Linked DNA regions of Homo sapiens: region 1 is linked to region 2. Evidence: promoter capture Hi-C in 16 types of primary human blood cells and fetal thymus (Javierre and others, 2016). All regions are on one chromosome and are shown on one strand. The core of a region is centred on a gene start or on the middle of the fragment in contact, and the rest is flanking DNA. Distances in the headings are between cores, read along the strand shown.

The links. Contacts are between HindIII fragments. The CHiCAGO score rates a contact against its expected background, and 5 or more counts as called.
Region 1: a contact is called between a fragment that was not itself captured here and the fragment with the promoter of ADAM28 in region 2, in 2 of 17 cell types (total B cells and naive B cells). The highest score is 10.9, in total B cells.

Annotation. Positions count from the first base shown.
Region 1 is chr8:24,244,266-24,247,898 of GRCh38, reverse strand. No RefSeq gene overlaps it. Among named protein-coding and RNA genes, the nearest start is that of ADAM28, 48 kb to the left of the region's middle. The HindIII fragment of the contact is 768 bases long and covers 1,665-2,432 here.
Region 2 is chr8:24,292,224-24,296,296 of GRCh38, reverse strand. ADAM28 (ADAM metallopeptidase domain 28) reads right to left here and starts at 2,228. Exons shown (of 23, transcript NM_014265.6): 1 at 2,102-2,228. The coding sequence starts at 2,147. ADAM7-AS1 (ADAM7, ADAMDEC1 and ADAM28 antisense RNA 1) reads left to right here. Exons shown (of 6, transcript NR_125808.1): 5 at 47-143; 6 at 240-483. The HindIII fragment of the contact is 10,253 bases long and covers 1,541-4,073 here.

The DNA.
Region 1 (3,633 bases), core at 799-3,298, 48 kb after region 2:
ATACATCTCAGCATTCGCTTGGGATCTACCAGAAGAGAACCTCTCTGTACTCTTAAATAATGTAGGCTGAAGTTAACACCTGGAGCCACTGCAGCCATTTTGCTACCATGAATTGAGAGCTTAGCACTGTGTTGGGGTAAGTGGAGTGGGCTGCAGAATGGAGGGGTGGACATTGAGAGAGATGTCAATGCTGCAGAAAGCAGGATAAAGAGAGAGTGAGGACAGGTCCTGAGTAACATCGTCTGGATCTGAGTTGAGTCTCTCCTGAAGGTAGTCCCATATTTGGACTTTAAGTTAGAAACTGATTTCATTAATGTGAAAGTCAAAGTGGTCTGGAATTTCTGATACTTGAGACCAAATGAGCCCTAACTATTACAAGAAGTATGTAATCACATAATGAGGTCTTCTTGCTTGCTGCCCAGATAGAGCTGGTTTATCAAGACAGGGGAATTTCAGTAGAGAAAAAGCTTAATTCACACAGAGCTAGCTGAATGGGAGACTGGAGTTTTATTTTTCAAATCAGTCTCTCAGAAAATTTGGAGATGGGGGCTTTTTAAGGATAGTTTGGTGGGGGGCCAGGGAGTGGAGGAGTGCTGATGGGTTGGGTCAGAGATGAAATCATACGGGGTCAAATGGGTTTTTCTTGCTGCCTTCTATTCCTGCGTGGGATTGCACAACTGGTTGAGCCAGATTACTGATCTGGTTGGCGCCAGCTGTTGCATCAGAACTAAGGGTCTAAAAAACATCTCAAGCATCAATCTTAGGATTTACCATTGTGATGCTATCCCTAGGAGCAACTGGGAACGTTTGGAATACTGTGGCCTCTAGCTTCATAACTCCTAAATCATAATTTCTAATCTTGTGGCTAATATGTTAGTTTTACAAGGCAGTCTGGTCCCCAGGCTAGAAGGGGGCTTGTTTCCGGAAAGGGCTGTTATTATCTTTGTTTCAAAGTTAAGCTGTAAACTAAGTTCCTCCCAAAGTTAGTTTAGCCTGTGCCTAGGAATGAACAAGTGCAGCTTGGAGGTTAGAAGCAAAATGGAGTCAGGGGGCCAAATCCCTTTCACTGCCATAATTTTCTCACTGTTATAATTTTTGCAAAGGTGGTTTCAGGTATGCCATGCATGTCAGGTGAAAATAAATTCTTTAAATCTCTAAACTCTGAAATGTTATTGACAAGGGGTTATCCCTGCCAAGACAGCTGGAGCCATTCTACTCAAAAAGTAGGAGGATTGTATTTAAGGTTCTTGCTTTCAGATTAAATGCTGTGCAAAGCCTTAGGGCTTAACTCATTCTTACCTCTGATTAAAATTTGTTTTCAATAGAGCACTCATTACATTTGTATTGAGGTAAGAAGAATGAGGCAAAGAAGAAATAACAGTAAATTGAAGTCAAACTATTTAAATTTCTACACTTTTTAATTCTCATGTAGTTACTTAACCTCTCTGTCACCTCAATTGTCTGTAAAATCAACAGAATAATGTCTGTTTCACCTAAGATCACAGTAAAGATTGCAGTAAATAGTAAATGTGTAAAAATGGTTGAAAACTGGGATAAAATGCAAATAGGCAGATGTGAAAGAGGTCTTGAAATGATAATAAGAGAAGCACATGAAAATGACTTTCAAATTTATGTTTCTTTGGATAGTGACTGGTTTCTAAGCTTCATCTGGACCATGGCATGTCCTTAAAACCAATTAATTCCTTGAAATCTAATTCCCAATATGATGGAATTTAGAGGTGGGGCTTTTGAGAGGTAATAGATCATGAGGGTAGAGCTTCCATGAATGGGATTAGTGCCCTTATAAGAAGAGGCCAGAAAGCTAGTTCACTTCTTTTCTGCTATATGCAGACACAAAGAGATGTCAGCTGTTTACAACCTGGAAGAGAGCTGTCACCAAAACCCAGCCATGCTGGCACCATAATCTTGGACTTCCAGCCTCCAGAACCATGAAAAATAAGTTTCTTTTGTTGGTAAGCCATCTAGTTTATGATATTTGGTTGTAGCAGCCCAACCTGACTGAAACATCATTCTTCATCGTCCATTAACAGGTACAATATTTTATAGGGCCACTGGTATTAAATCATTCATTCAATAGTGTGAGGCATACAGCTAGCCACCAGGAATACAGAGAGGTAAAATATCCTTACCAGGAAAGTATGTGGGAATTCTTTGCGCTGTCTTTGCACCTACTCTGTGAATTCATCTAAAATTTAAAAAATTAAATCTCCATTAGTTCTATACTCTGTGTTATGACTGGTTAAAACAATTATCTTCCATAGACCATTATAACTCAATTTGGAGAATGATGAGAATGTGTAAGTAAAAAATGTTGAAAGGTCAAAATAAATATCCTCACAGGGGCTCATGATGTAACTACAGAAACAGCTATAGAAACAGCTTATGATGTAGCTACAGAAAGAGGACAAGCTTACTGGAGTTGAAATAGAAACACTCCTAAGATCAATGGGCAGCACTTTTAAAGTACCACTGTTTATTCAGTAACATTTTTTACTAAAAATATTTGAAATCCCCAAATGACAAGCTACCCATTCTGTTGAGGAGGTAAAGACAGATGCTATGGCCTTGGGTCCTTAGCATCAGCTGGGAAATGCTCTTTGTGATGGGAAGTGACTCAGGTCCATCACAGCAACCGGGAGGCTGACAGGCTGGCTGTGATTGTGCAGAAGAGCCAACTTTTTGCAAGCGAACGTCAGATCTTCAGGCTCCTTCTCTACGTATTGCTGCCACCTAGTGATCAAATATTTTTGTGAAACACCAAAATAAGAGAAATGTAAGCACTCTCAGATTGCTTTTTTAGTTTAATGTTTATGTGAGCAATCTAAAGTGCTCAATAGGAATGCAAAAATTCATAAAGTTGAGTAACAATTTCATATTCATCATATATCTGGGTTCTTTGGAAGATGTATAAACTCTATTCCTTAAAAAAGTTTACAATCTACTGATTGACAAAATTGAAAGTAGTACAATATAGTATGAGTGGGACAAGATCCTTATACTTCTGCTCCTACTTTGGTGGTTTTGATATCAATACATGTATTAGTCCATTTTCATGCTGCTGATCAAGACATAACTGAGACTTGGCAATTTACAAAAGAAAGTGGTTTAAGGGAGTACTCACAATTCCACATGGCTGATGAAGCCTCACAATCATGGCAGAAGGCAAGAAGGAGCAAGTCACATCTTACACGGATGGCGACAGGCAAAGAGAGAGCTTTTGTAGGGAAACTCTCATTTTTAAAACCATCAGATCTCATAAGACTTATTCACTAGCAGGAGAACAGCACAGGAAAGTCCCGCCCCCCAAGATTCAATTACCTCCCACCAGGTCACTCCCACAACACATGGGATTTCAAGATGAGATTTTGGTGGGGATACAGCCAAACCATATCAGTATGTATAGGAATAACTACCATTTGCAGGATGTCTTCATTATGGCCAGCACTGAGCTTTGTGCTTTAAATAAATAATATTTATAATCCTCAAATCATGCATTTAAGAAAGTCTTTGTTACTGTATGTTTACCTATGACAATATCGAGTCACTGAAGTTCTGGAACTTGCTCAATGTAACACAACTGATGAGTTATATAGGCAGGATATTAACTCAAGT
Region 2 (4,073 bases), core at 979-3,478:
TCTGTTATTTTGACTATTTAGATTAAACTGTATATTTTCTTTTCAGTCTTCCAGTTACCTTATAAAGGCAAGGAAGAACTGGTAGTTTGAAATAAAATAATTTCAAAAAGTGCTGTACCCCCTGAGTATTCTGCTGTAATAAGGTAAGCACCTTTCTCCTTTGTTGATGCAATCATTTACATCTTCACCCCGCAAACACCTGTCACATCCTTTTAAATATTTGTTTTTCCTTTTCCTAGGATGAAATCCCATAAGTCAATTTTTTCTCGGGATTGTGAAGTTCACTGCACACAACCAGCCTTATTTTACATCTCTTTCTTTTATTTCAACCATCTGGGGACTGGGCAGAAGTCATGGTCAGAGGGGCACATATGTATTGCTTTGATGATGGGGGCAGAGAACAAACAGGAAGAACTGGGAAATGAAAATTGCTTTACTTCTTATATTCTGACTAGAAAGGCAACCCAAATGGGAATCATAACAGGGATAGTTCAGTGGCAAAAAGACACCCTTAAAAATAGAAGCTAGAAGTTAAAGGAGGGGTGACATCACACTTTTAGAGTTGACATCAGAGGAAGTTGCATCTCTTGGTGCCATGTTATACATGCACCGTCGGGGCAGCAGAACTGATTAGTGTGCCCAGTTGCACAAAAGGACTGTAATGTGCATGGGCCCCAGTGTTAGCCATGTGACTCTGTTAATGGATCCAGCTTGATCTTTACGCTCTTCAACTAAGCTAGTGCCCAAGCAGTTCTTGTATTTCAGCTTAGAGGGGGTTCTGGAAAAGCTCTTGGTGATAGCATTTTTGGAGAACGGAGAGAAAAAAACATTTCTATTAAGTCTGCCTCAAAAAGTAGGAATTTCAGGTCAATGTTAAATGCCTGGCATGAGTTTTATATATATTTTTAATATTTCAGGCTTATTTTACCAAAAGAAAGCTGGTGTAACACGTTCACATCAGACAAAATAGGTATCAAAGCAAAAGGCATTAGAGATGAAGAGGATCACAGCACAGTGGGAAAAGGTTCAGTTCAGATATAGGTACATATTATATAAAGCAAAAATACACAGAAACAAAAGGAAAATAATTCGATATTTAAAGATATTAGGTTAAGTGAAATTTTTATAAGTCTTGAAAACAAATCAGAAACAGGTGAGACACAGGAAAATCATTTTTAGCAACAAAGTACTAAGAGGGTGCATGGACAAGGAAAACTTTTCCCTCCCTAAGCCCATACCTCTAGTTGATAATCTGTTCCCATCCCCAGGTCCCAGCAAACATTCTAAGACCCAAGAACAGGTTTACTGGGAGGAATTCGAGGCACTGCAGTTCATGTGCTGAGTTAAATAAGCTCTGGAAATAGAAGCTGAAGAATCACAATACCCAATCTAATTTAACCAAAGTCTAATTAGAGAATTTACCAGAAATTGAGAGACTTGCTAGACATAATTTCCTGTTAGGAAGTAGTATTTTTCTCCTTTCAAATTTTTAAATGTTTGGTATAATCAGCAAAATAGAAGTAAATTATCAATTTAAGCTTAACAGAGATATTTTGTTAAGTAATATCACAGTACCTTATAAATAAAAAATATTAATTATTTCCAGTTAGTCACACGTATTATTACTAATAATGAGTAAATACAAAAATATACACTCAAACAGAAAGAGCCAAACTGGCTCCCATAATAATAGTAGGTATTTTCCTAAGCCTTGTACACAGTAATAAATAAATAAATCTGCCACATCTTTACCATTCTTTAAATGACAAGCTGGGTTTTGATGAATTCCACTTTTTCAGTCAAAAATCATATTCATGATTTAAATTGTGCTGTATGAAATTGTCCCTTTTATTTCTGTATATTCTCAGATGAGATGCATACATATTGGTTCAAGACCTCTTGTTGCCTCTTTTTAACATTGTCTTTGTATCACTCGCAGCCCCCAAACAACAGGTTAAAACCAGCCCAACTGGTTAGTAAGATTGATTGAGAAAAAAGAAAAAGAAAAAAGTCAAAATAGTTTATACAATAAAACTATTAGGAGACTATGAAAAGTTCGCTAATGCATTCAATAGAACCTGAAAAAGAGCTAAATATGTACCTGCAACAGAGAGGAGGAGACTGACTGGCAGGAGACCTTGCAACATGCTGGGTGATTCCAGGAGCACGGTGTCTGCTCTTCTCGCTCAGGTGGGTGCTGCTGGGTCTGTCCCTGCCTCCTCTCCAGTGAGACAGAATGAAACTCCCTGGTTCATTCTTGTCTCTGATTCAGGAAGTGTTTACTAAAGGTGTTGCGCAACCTCGAAGCTGTGGTCCTGCAACAATGGCCCAGCAGGCGGAAGTCCTGGCTGCCTCCTGGCTCTAAGATTACTTGATCTGAACTATTGTTTTGCTCTCCTTTGCCATACTCCCCACTCCAAAGTAGTACATTTCCAACATATTACTATAGCCAGATAAGCTACAAGGAAAGAGGCAACTGCATTAATGAGTCTTGAAAAACATGCTAGACATTTATTTACATTACGGATATGATATATAAATATATGTTTAAATATATTTTTATATATATACAGTTGTAGGAAAAAAGTTATTAAGAATGTTATTTTTCCCCCACATACATAATGTGGTTATGTAAAGCAATTTCTAATTCAACCTAATTACTATATAGCATTCTCTTTTCCATTATTTTATGTTCTATTCCTCACACAAGTGTACTCTCAGGAAGTTTGAACTATCCTGAAATAAGAATGTCTGACAATATAAGCACAATAATTTTTAGATCCTTGGGGGTATTTGTGTCATAACTGGCAATGAGGAGTGTGGAAGAAGGATTCAAGACCCAAAGGATACAATTTTAGGATCTGTCACTGGTGGTAGTAAGGCTAAACTGGGCATGTCTAAAAATCATACTTATAACCAATAAAATAACTAATATCAACTGAGCTGCTTATTAAGTTTTAGGTACTGATAGGGTTTGGTTGTGTCCCTACCTGAATCTCATCTTGAATTGTAGCTCCCATAATCCCCATGTGTTGTGGGAGGGACCCAGTGGGAGATAATTGAATCAAGGGGCGGGCTTTTCCCATGCTGTTCTCATTATAGTGAATAAGTCTCATAAGATCTAATGATTTTATAAAGGGCAGTTCCCCTGCTCAGGCTCTCTTTGCCTGCCTCCATGTAAGATGTGTCTTTGCTCCTCCTTCACCTTCTACCATGAGAGTGAGGCCTCCCCAGCCATGTGAAACTGTGAGGCCATGAAACCTCTTTTTAATTTACCCAGTCTCAGATATTTCTTCGTGATAGTATGAAAATGGACTAATACAGGTACTCTCCTAAATCTACTGTACTTGTTATTTTATTAGTCTTTATGATACTCATGTATTATGCATTTACAATCATTTTGCAGGTGAAAATTTGGGGTTTTAAAGGCAAAATTCAAAAGATTAAGAATCAGTTGTCCCCTCATTGTATAGATTAAGAAGATTAAGCAGATAAAGTCACCTATCCAGTAAGTGGTAGAAGTGGAATCTGAACTATGTGTTGTCTGGGCTCTTAGTCATATACTCTAATGCTTTCCCTTGGCTTAGCTGACTTGTACTCCCAGTATCATTTCTATTGAAAAGATTCTGGGAGAATAGAAATAATTATGAAATTCCTAAGGAATAGAAATTACGCTGAGGACCAGTTATTACCACAAAACCTAGTCCTAGTCCACTAAAATCATGCATCATTTTACAGATTCTGAAACACATTCTCATACTAGAGGGATTACAGTGATTATTGATGTCTCCAAATGATTATACAGTCATCAACTAAAACCACAAAGGAATTTTTGAGTCTAGTTACTGAGCATTTTAACCATCAGGATTGCGATTCACAGATTTCTTGCCTTTTCAACCCAAGTTCCATTGCTTTGTCTTTTCCAGGGAACAGAAAGGATACTTCAACTTTTAATTATTACATATTTTTTCTCCATTAATTCAACGTAATTTTACTTACAGCTATTATGTGTCAGACACTGAGATTGCAGTTGAAAAAACACAATCATGGCCGGGAGTGGTGGCTCATGTCTG